2 separate regions of the Homo sapiens genome follow, and region 2 is linked to region 1. Evidence: promoter capture Hi-C in 16 types of primary human blood cells and fetal thymus (Javierre and others, 2016). All regions are on one chromosome and are shown on one strand. Each heading gives the region's core, a stretch centred on a gene start or on the middle of the fragment in contact. The rest is flanking DNA. Distances are from core to core; before and after follow the strand shown.

Region 1 (5,726 bases), core at 3,111-5,610:
ATTTTGTCAAATTTTTTTTCTATATCTATTGATATCAACATGTGATTTTTCTTCTTTAGCCTGTTGATGTGGATTTGGATTACCTTAATTGATTTTCAAATGTTGAACCAGCCTCACACACTTGGGATAAATTGCACTTGGTTATGGTGTATAGTTGTTGAATACATTGTTGCATTCAATTTGCTAATATTTTGTTGAGGAATTTATTATCTCTGTTCATGATAGATGCTGGTCTGTAGCTTCCCTTTCTTATAAATTTTTTGTCAGATTTTGGTATTAGGGTGATGCTGGCCTCAAAGAATGAGTTAGGAAGTATTCCCTCTGCTTCAATCTTCTGGAAGAGATTGTAGAGAATTGGTATAATATCTTTCTTTAAAATGTTTGGTAGAATTCACCAGTGAACCCATTTGAACCTGGTGTTTTCTGTTTTGAAAGGCTGCTAATTATTAAGTCAGTTTCTTTAATAGATATAGGCCTATTCAGCTTGTCTATTTCTTCTTATGTGAGTTTTGACAGATTACATCTTTCCAGGATTTGGTCCATTTCATCTAGGTTATTAAGTCTGTAGGCATAGAGTTGTTCATAGTAATTCTTCTTTTTTTAAATGTTCATAGGACCTATACTGATGTCCTTCTTTCATTTCTGACACTAGTAATTTGTGTCCTTTTTTTTTTTTTTTTACCAGTTATCCTGGCTAGAGGCTTATCAATTCTATTGATCTTTTCAAAGAATCAGCTTTTGGTTTCATTGATTTTCCTCCGTTGATTTTCTGTTTTAAATATTATTGATTTTTCTCTAATTTTTTTTGTTTTCTTCTGCTAACTTTGGATTTAATTTGCCATTCTCCAACCTAGTTTCTTAAGTTGGAAGTCTAGGTGATTGATTTTAGATCGTTTTCTTTGCGAAGGCATTCAATGCTGTAAACATTCAATGCTGTAAACATTCAGTGCTGTAAACATTCAATGCTGTAAACTTCCCTCTAAACTCTGCTTTTGCTGCATCCCACAAGTTTTGATTAGTTGCATTTTCATTTTCGTTTCATTCAAAATATTTTAAAATTTCTCTTGAGATTTTCTTCTTTGACTCATGTGCTATTTAGAAATGTGTTGTTTAATTTCAAAATATTTAATGATTTTTCAGTTATCTTTCTGTTATTGATTTCTCGTTTAATTTCATTGTGGTCTGAGAGCAGACAGCAGACATTGTATGATTTCTATTTCTTTAAATCAGTTAAGGTGTGTTTTATGGTCCAGAATGTGGTCTTTCTTGGTTTTCTGCTTCATCTTTTTTCTACTCCCTTCTTTCGTGCATCTTATCTCTCTCAGCAGCCATTCTGACCTGCCTAATGTGTATTTTACGTTATGGTCTTTTTTCTTTCTAAGTGTGCTTTTTTTGGGGTGTGTGCACATGCAATTTTAATATACATAAATAATATGTTTTATATCTCATTATCTTTCTTACTTTTCTCACACAGCACTATACCTCTAAACTATATTGTGTATAGCTAATCCTTTGCTTCTAACTGTTGAAGAGTCTATAAATTGTAAGTAAGTAGATACAATTTATCTACTTACTTTCCCAATGGTGGACACTTATTTTATCTCTAAGTTCCCATCGCCAAAAATAATGGTATAATGAATGCCTTTGTACATGCCATCTTATAGGCCTGAAAGAGAATGATTTGGGACTATATATACCTTGGACCAGATTTGCTATGCCCTGTGGATACCTATACTTATTTTTCCTAAGTAATGTCTTACTGTTTTCCAGAATAGCTGTAGTATATGGGGGTTCCTAAATCCCTACCTCCTTACTAACACTTAGCACCATCCAGCTTTTAAAATTTGTGCTAATCTTATAAACGTAAAAAGATATATCACTGTTTTAATTTGCGCTTCTATGTTTAGTAATCGGTTTGAGCATCTCTTCACATGCTCTGTGGTACTTCAGGTTTTCTCTTTTGTAAATTGTTCTATATACCTTGCTCATTTTTTTTCTTGCTAAAGTTGATGTCTTTTTCTTGCTGGTTTGCTAGGGTTTATTATTATATATGCTAGTTAGGCATCTTTTCCCATCCTATTATAGTTGTTGCCCATAAAGAGAAAGAGGTTTGGGCAGATGATAAAAGGAAGGGATTTGAGAAATTATTTTCAGAAGAAATTATTTTCATCCAATTTGAAATTGGATGAGCATAATTATGGGAGGTTTAATAGGCTGTTCAAAGGGACGGCTAGACTAAAGTGAAGGAAGTAATGTGTGAGTGCCCAGAGTCTGGGCTCTGGAAGCCACTTGGACTGGGGTTTGAATCTCAGTGTTGTTACTCCTGCTCCAAGTTCCATATCTGTGAAATGAGAATAGAATAGTACCTACTTGTTGTGTAGTATAATTGAAATAGAATAGAAAGCACGTAGAAGAATTGCATGGATCAGAGTCAGCATCCAAAAACATGTTAGCTGCTGTTATCATTATTATTAGTGTTACTAAGAAAATTACATAAAGAGATCAGGAAATTCTTGGGCAGGGGTAAGTAGAGATACTTTGCCTCTCTTTGCCTCATTTGTTCCCAAGTACAAAAAGAAAAAAAATTGGCCAGGCGCAGTGCCTCACACCTGTAATTCCAGCACTTTGGGAGGCCAAGGCAGGTGGCTCACTTGAGGTCAGGAGTTCAAGACCAGCCTGGCAAACATGGTGAAACCCCGTCTCTACTAAAAATACAAAAATTAGCTGGGCATGGTGGCAGATGCCTATAATCCCAGCTACTCGGGAGGCTAAGGCAGGAGAATCACTTGAACCTGGGAGGCGGAGGTTGCAGTGAGCCGAGATCGTGCCACTGTACTCCAGCCTGGGCTGGAGTGAGACTCTGTCACCAAAAAGAAAAAAAAAAAGAAAAAAATTGGGCTGAGTAATATTTTCTATATAGAAGATAATAAGACCATGAATGACCCTAAAACTCAATGTTGAAAGTTTAGCATTTAAGTTAAATTACAATTAAGATAGGAAACATTTATTAAAGGGCTTGGGGTAGAGGGATGGATCTCAAGTGAAAGAAAACCTGAACCTGAAGTTGGCTGGCTTCAAAGAGAAGTGAAAAAAGAGGGAGGGAAGGAAGAGGAAAGAAGAGGAAGGAAGGAAGAGGAAGGAAGAGGAAAGGAAGAGGGAAGGAAGAGGAAAGAAGGAAAAATGCCCATTCACCCAGCCATGTGGAGAAGTGATTATTTTCCATCCACAGCTGGCCAGCATTCAGAAGCTGTCACTCTGGTATTTATAACAATTACCACTAAATTGAAAAGGAACAATAACATTTGCATCAAAACAGTTTACCCCTCAGCGTTTTCTGCACGGCAGCCTTTACTTCCTTGTTCCTCAGGCTGTAGATTAGGGGATTCAACATGGGGATTACCGTGGTGTAGAACACAGAGGCCACATTCTCCTGGGTCAAGGAACTGATTGTGGAGGGTTTTAAGTACATGAATGCAGTTGATCCATAGAACATTCCCACGGCTGCAAGGTGGGAGCTGCAGGTGCTGAAGGCTTTGGATCTCCCCTCTGTGGTGCTGATGCCGAGGATGCTGGAGAGAATGAAGGTGTAAGAAACAAGAACTGTTAAGCTCGTGACTATGATGTTGAATCCAGCCGAAAAGAAGACTGTCATCTCAACATCATAGGTGCTAGAGCAGGACAGCTTCATGAGAGGGAGGATGTCACAGAAGTAGTGACTGATGAGGTGCTCACAATAGGGCAGTTTTAACATGAGGCCAGTTTCTATTGTGGAGCCAATGAGTCCGATGGCGTAGACCACAGCCACCAGCAGCAGGCAGGTGTGATGAGACATAATGATGTTGTAAAGCAAAGGGTGGCAGATGGCAACATAGCGGTCGTAGGCCATCACTGTCAGCATGTAACACTCAGCAATGACAAAAACAAGGAAGAAGTAGAGCTGTGACATGCACCCTGCGTAGGAGATGATGTTTTTCTCTGACACAAAGTTCACCAGCATCTTAGGGGTAATGACGGAGGAGTAGCAGAGATCCATGAGTGACAGATTGCTGAGAAAGTAGTACATGGGGGTGTGCAGCTGAGAGTTCAGACAAATTAGAGTGATCATGCCCAGGTTCCCCACGATGGTGACCAAGTAGATCCCGAGGAAGAGGAGAAAGAGGGGGAGCTGGAGGTCTGCTCTCTTCGTTAAACCCTTGAGAATGAACTCTGTCACTGTAGAGTGATTTCCTGCAGCCATTCTCCTCTGGGTGGGAGGCCTGCAGGGATGCATGGGAGACAAGAACCCCATTAAAAGGCTAATCTTGGACGGCTAGTCTTGAGCCTTTGGTGCTAGTGAAACATCCTGGGCTCTCTGCTGATGCATCCTCCCCGCCCTCCTCCCCTCGTCCTGCTATTTGCTGGTCTTCTTTGCAGGAAGACCAGCGTGAGTGTTTCAGGGATCATGAAGATGGGAGGAAAGCAGGCCAAGGTCTGGATCTTTTACCATGCACATTTTTCTAAAGCATCCTGGGGCAGTGTTTCTCAAAGGGTAGTCCCTGGACCAGCAGCACTGACATTACCTGGAGTTTTTTAGAGATGCAAATTCTCAGGCCTCAGCTCACACCTAATTAATCAGAAACTCTGGATATGGGGCCCAGCAATCTATGTATTAACAATCTTTCTGGTGATGGTGTTGCATAGTAAAGTTTGAGAATCTCTACATTGTAGATAAGTAGTATATTTCATATTTTGTAGTTGGGGATGGATTTTGCTTTAGAAATAAACTTCCTTTGTCATGTATATAATTCCTAAATATTCACTGAATGTGAACATGTAAATACCTATCTGAAATTTACGCAGTGTCAGGGTGATAGGGTAGTTACAAGCTGTGTCATTGGCTGACACATCAATTTCTATGTCTGAAAGATGAAGAAATTAATATTGATTCCAAAGGTGGTTGTAAAAATAACACAGGATAATGCATATTTAGAAATCTTTTTTCAAATACTCAGTGCCTATAAAAAATGTGAATTGTCATTAAGAGTCTGGAATTTGTTCTTAATTTCTTACTTGACCTGAGGTCCTAAGGCAGTGGTTCTCAGCATTGGCTATACATTATAATCACACGGGGCATTTACAAAGGATTGATACCTGGGTTCTACCCGTAGATGTTCTGATTTAATTGATCTGTGGTGCAACATGAGCACTGGCCCATTGAATGTTCCATACTAAGTGCTAAATAGCTAATTATTATTATTATTATTTTCAGATCATAATATCAAACCTTTGTCCTATTACATCCCTGATGACAAAGTATTCAAATTACAGGCATATCTCCAGGAAGCATGAATAATCATTGCTGGATACAATATGTATAGACAGTCTTATCTGTGGGATGTATTTCTTAAGCTATAAAACATATTACCCCTATTTTAATTGCTTCCTTATGTAATTACTAACTTTTGCATAATGCTTTACAGCTTACACATTTCTTTCAAAGGTCGATCTCATTAACTTCTGAAGTTTTCGGAAATGGGGAGAAATGTGTTTAGGGAAGGATTTTTATTTTCATGTTTGTATTGAGAAAACTGAGGTGCCAGACACTAAGTGATTTGCCCAAGGTTTACTAATTATTGGTGACTTGGAACTCAAACTTACCTCGGCTCTGTCCTGATCATGAGTTTCCTCTTTTGCCTCACATGTGCAGCCTTGTAAATCTGCACACTCACAGCTCTTAGCAATGTATG
Region 2 (5,326 bases), core at 1,696-4,195, 530 kb after region 1:
TTACCATGTCTCTGTGTTGTGACCATCCAAAAATCTTTCTTCTGGCTTTTTCAAAATATACAATAAATTATAGGTAACTATGTTCACCTTACAGTGCTCCAGAACACCAGAACTAATTCCTCCTATTCAGCTGTAATTGTGTATTCGTTGACCAACCTCTTTCCATTTTCCCCATCTATTCTTTCCAGCCTCTAATACCCACAGTTCTACTCTTTACTTTCATGAGCTCAAAAAAAAAATTTAGCTCCCACATATGAGTGAGAACATGCAGTATTCATATATCTGTGCCTGACTTATTTCACATAACATAGCATCCTCCAGGTTCATCCATGTTGCTGCAAATGACAGTATTTCACTCTTTTTAGTGGCTGAATAGTATTCCATTGTGTATATATACCATGGAGGTGCATGTGTACTGCACCTTTGATATACTGACTTGCTTTCCTTTGTATAAATACCCAATAGTGAAATTGTTGGGCTGCATGAAAGTTCTATTTTTAGTTTTTAGAGAAATCCCCACACTGTTTTCCATAATGTTAACTTACATTCCCTATGGCCACTTTACTCAAACATATTCATTTTTATGGATATTTAATTTTTTAACAGTTTTTTAATATTTTCCCAAATAAAAAAGTACTGTTAGAAAAATAGGTAGACATAAGTGCATGTATAATGCACTATGATAATCTTATTAACCCATGTAGTTATCCATATTTGAGACTTTACTAAAGATAAGTAAACCTAAGTAGAAATCCTATAAAATTAATGAATATTATGGTTTTGAAGATTATTATTAAATTGTTTACTTTGTTAGCACCAGTGCTTGCAAGAGCCAACTTTACCAGTGTTATTATTTAATTACTTAAAAGTTTTAAAGCTTTTACCATAAGCAGTTTTCAACCAACTATCTTTAATCTTCATTTTTGGTTATTCTTAAAGCTAAACATATTTACAAATTTGTATTTATTATTTTTCTTTATAGCAACTAAAAAAAGTGAGGTTGGTTTAGGACCAGATTAATTTAAAAATGGAATAGAATAGACAGCATAAAAACACACCCCTTGCATATTTGATTTAAGTCAAAGCTGGCATGGAAGATTATGGTAAATGTATTTTTCCAATAAATTATGCTTGGACAACTGAATCAACATGGAACAAATCAGATTAATCTCTTACCACATACTATACACAAAATCAATTCCAGGGCCATTATAAACTCAAATTTTTATAACAAATAATACGGCTTTTACAAATTGAATTGGGGAAAAACTTTCTGATGCAGGTATAGAAACTAAGAGAAATAAAAGAAACATCATTCGTTTTGGTTACTTTAATATTGAGAATAATATTAAAATAGTAAAAAATAAAAATAAAAAGTGAAAAAGATGTTACTTATAACAAATATTACTATCAAGGACTGGTATTCAAAATATATAAAGAATTTCTAAAATTTATATTAAAATCAAGCAATCCAATATAAATAAATGTAGGTAAATTACTTGGCCAGGCTTCATAAAAGAAGAAATACAATTGGCCAATAAACAAAAGAAAATCTACTCTATCACTTTAAGAGTTAGGGAAATGCAAATTAAAATTGCATTAAAATTATGCCTAAAGTAAATGTCAAAATTGTCAATTGCAAGAACTTTCACACATTTCTAAAGGGAATATAAATTTATAGAATTACTTTTTAAAAAAGGTTTATTACTTTCAAATAAGCTGGAAGATATCTTCCTCACAATATCAACATTTCCATGTAGAAACTCAGGCTTATGTGCCCAGGGTAATGTATAAGAGTATTTAAGGCGGGATTTTTGTTATAACCAAAATTTGAAAACCCAAGTATCTACCAAGTGTGTATTTTACAATGGAACAATGCATATGAATTAAATGAATAAATTTATTGCTGTACATATCAATATGTACATGTCTTCAAAACATAATTTTAAATATTACATTAGAGCAAATGTGATTGCGATTTTTGCCATTAAATGCAATAGCAAAAACCGTAATTACTTTTGCCCAACCGTATAGAAACTCTATATTAAATATAACTATGATTCCACTTACATAAGTTTTTAAAAGGCAAAATTTAACTGTATTGTTTAAAGATACCCTCAAAATTAGTACGAAATTGAGATTCTCATGATAGCGGAATGGAAGGAGATTGACTTCAGGAAGAGATGTGAAGGCTCAAAGGTTGCTGGCAATACTTACTTTTTTAATTTGGGTGGTGGAGACATGAATGTTTGCTTTAGAATACATCTGGCCTGTGTCTGTACGAAGTTTTATCTATTTACTTTATATTTCACAACACAACGCAAATGATGAAAATAAAAATAGTTAATTTGGAGATGTTCAATTCTGGCCCGTGATACAATAACAAGGATTAGATTTCTCCTCTCACAATATAGACATAGAACACTGGACCCCAAAATATATATTAAAACAGGTATTTTCAGACATTGAACAACAAGTAGCACAAGACTGTGATCCCCAAGAAAGGAAAAGCAAATGAGGTGAGCACTCTGTTTGGAGGCACATTCTGAGCCATGGTGCATGGATAGGGGTCTGAAGCAGAGCACAACAGTTTTGCTGATTTTCAGGAACAGAGTTCTGAGTTAAAATATATAAATAATACAAAATTTACACACACTCTATCAGAAAATTGAATAGGCAAGAAACGTCCCAACTCATTCGATGATTTCAGTATTATCTTGATACAAAAACAAGACAAAGACATTATAGGAAAAGAGCTATCAATTTATATTCTTTATAAACAAGTATATTAAAATTCCTAATAAAATTTTCCAAATTGAATTTAATATATATGAAAAAAATGATTTGCATCATAATCAACCAGGTTGATTCCAGGAATGTAAGTATAGTTTAATATTCAGTACTCAAGCAACATAATTTGCCGTATTAACAAACTGAAAAAGAAAAACTATATGACTGTCTCAATAGATGCAGAAAATGCACTCGACAAATTGCAAAAGCCATTTCTGGTAAAAAAAAATCTCAGCTAACTAGGGGATAGAAGGAACCAATCTCATTTGTCAAACAGAAAAACAAAACAAACACAACAAAAAAAACCCCACAGCTGACGTCATGCTTAGTAGTAAAAAAAACTAGATATTTTCCCCTAAGATCAAGAACCTAGCATGTCTACTGCCACCACTTCTATTCAACATTGAGCTACAGTTTCTAGACAGGACATTTAGCTAAGAAAAAGAACTAAAAGGAATCTAGATTGTAAAGGAGAAGTAAACTGTCTGTGTTTGCACACGACATGGTCATCTATGTAGAAAATCTGATGGAATATCTAAAAAGACTATAGGAACTGATAAGTGAGTTTAGCTGAGTTGTAAGATATAAGATTTATATGCAATAATCAATCAACTCTATGTATTAACAACGAACAATTGGAAGTTGAAATTTTAGAAGTACTATTTAAAATAGCATCAAAATAAAATATTCCTAGTGATAAACCTGACAAAATATACTGGATATGAGCACTGAAACGACACAACATTGTTGAGAGAAACAAAAGAGATCAACAGTATTTGTGATCAAACATAATCCAGTATTACTAAGATAGCAATTGTCCCAAATTTATTGATAGATTGAATGCAATTCCAATCAAAATCACAGCAGGCTTTTGTGTGTGTAAATAAACAATTTTTTGTGTAAAATTTATATGGAAACGCAAAGGACTTTTTTATTTTATTTTATTTTATTTTTGAGACAGAGTCTCGTTCTTACCCAGGCTGGAGTGCAGTGGCGTGATCTCGGCTCACTGCAAGCTCCATCTCCCGGGTTCACGCCATTCTCCTGCCTCAGCCTCCCAAGCAGCTGGGACTACAGGCGCCCACTACCATGCCTGGCTAATTTTTTGTATTTTTAGTAGAGACGGGGTTTCGCCGTGTTAACCAGGATGGTCTCGATCTCGTGACCTCCTGATCCGCCTGCCTCAGCCTCCCAAAGTGCTGGGATTACAGGCGTGAGCCACCGCACCCGGCCGCAAAGGACTTTGAATAGCAAAAGTAATTGTGAAAAAAACAGAGAAATGGCTCAGTGGCAGAGGAGGCCCAGTGATGAATACGGTTGGTAAACAGGAATGCCTGGACTTCTACGCTTCTCTAGTCTTTGTTAGAGTATCAACAAGTCACCAGACTGTGTGGGTGGATTCAGCTGTGCCTTTTTCCATGTGCAAAGAACTATCAATGCAGAATTCTTGATGATGTTTAGAAGTTCTGGCGTGTTTATCACATAAAATCCCACTGGGTTTTAGTGAAACAGCCAAAAATGATGGATAATTCCTTTCTTTTTCTTAAAGAAATTAAAACTCAGCAAATGTTACTATTGAACTCCTCTTCCTGGAAAAAGGCACAGACAAGTTGTGTAGCACTCACAACAGACCTAAGTAATTCCTAAACCATTGCTAGGTGGGTGACAATAGTGTCTTCTACCAATACAGCAAGACAGAAAAGAAAGATAACAAATGTTTACTTTTGGAAAGAAAGACAAAAGTATCATTTTATAAAGATAATGTAACTGTATACTGTATACCAAGAAAATTGATAAGTTACACTGAAAGCACAAGTTAATAGTATTCACAAAGATAAGTACAGAAAGTTGGATAGAAGTTTCAATTAACAAAAATTGATAGCATATATTTGATAAAGAGATTTCAAAATATAATTGGAGCTAAATTGAAAGTAATTACTAAAATAATATTGTGATTTTACATTGATTAAATATGCCTTATACTAAATGGATAACCAATGTCAGAAAAATGGGTAATTTGGTAATTTAATTGGAAAAAAATATTAATTCAGGGGACTTCAGTTCTTCAAATTCCATTCCATATAGGACTATATTTTCCATATGCAGATGAGAGCATTTCTATTAGCACAAAAGGCTCATGAAACTGCAATTGTCCTCCAAAACTAACAGTGCTTTGGGCATCTACATTAGACCAGTTTTTCTTGTTGTTTTCATGAAAGCTTTTTCCTAATAGCTAAGAAATATATTAATTATGGAAGAAAAGCATACCTTCATTCTCTTTAATTGTATTAATTCAAGCTAAAAAATAAAAGAAAGTTTCACAGAAAATTTAAATACATTTTAAAGTTTAGAAGATATGAAAGAACAAAGGCAAAGTCTCTGAGAAGAACAGAAAATCTCTGAACTAGCATCCATTCTCAGCCAGGAACTTGCACAGTGAGAGTCTGCCAAGCCCCAGAGGGAGGAAGTTTAATTAGGAAGATGTTTATCTACAGGGAGTAGTACTCTGATCATCCCTGGAGCACAGAAAATCCGG

Evidence for each region. The method cuts DNA at HindIII sites, captures the fragments that hold promoters and counts their contacts. A CHiCAGO score of 5 or more calls a contact.
Region 2: a fragment that was not itself captured here is called in contact with the fragment with the promoter of OR8A1 in region 1 in 1 of 17 cell types (total B cells); the score reaches 7.9 in total B cells.

Annotation. Positions count from the first base shown.
Region 1 is chr11:124,568,631-124,574,356 of GRCh38, reverse strand. OR8A1 (olfactory receptor family 8 subfamily A member 1) reads right to left here and starts at 4,360. Exons shown (of 1, transcript NM_001005194.2): 1 at 2,983-4,360. The coding sequence starts at 4,237. The coding sequence ends at 3,308. The HindIII fragment of the contact is 5,869 bases long and covers 1-5,726 here.
Region 2 is chr11:124,041,387-124,046,712 of GRCh38, reverse strand. No RefSeq gene overlaps it. Among named protein-coding and RNA genes, the nearest start is that of OR10G7, 2.7 kb to the right of the region's middle. The HindIII fragment of the contact is 4,132 bases long and covers 880-5,011 here.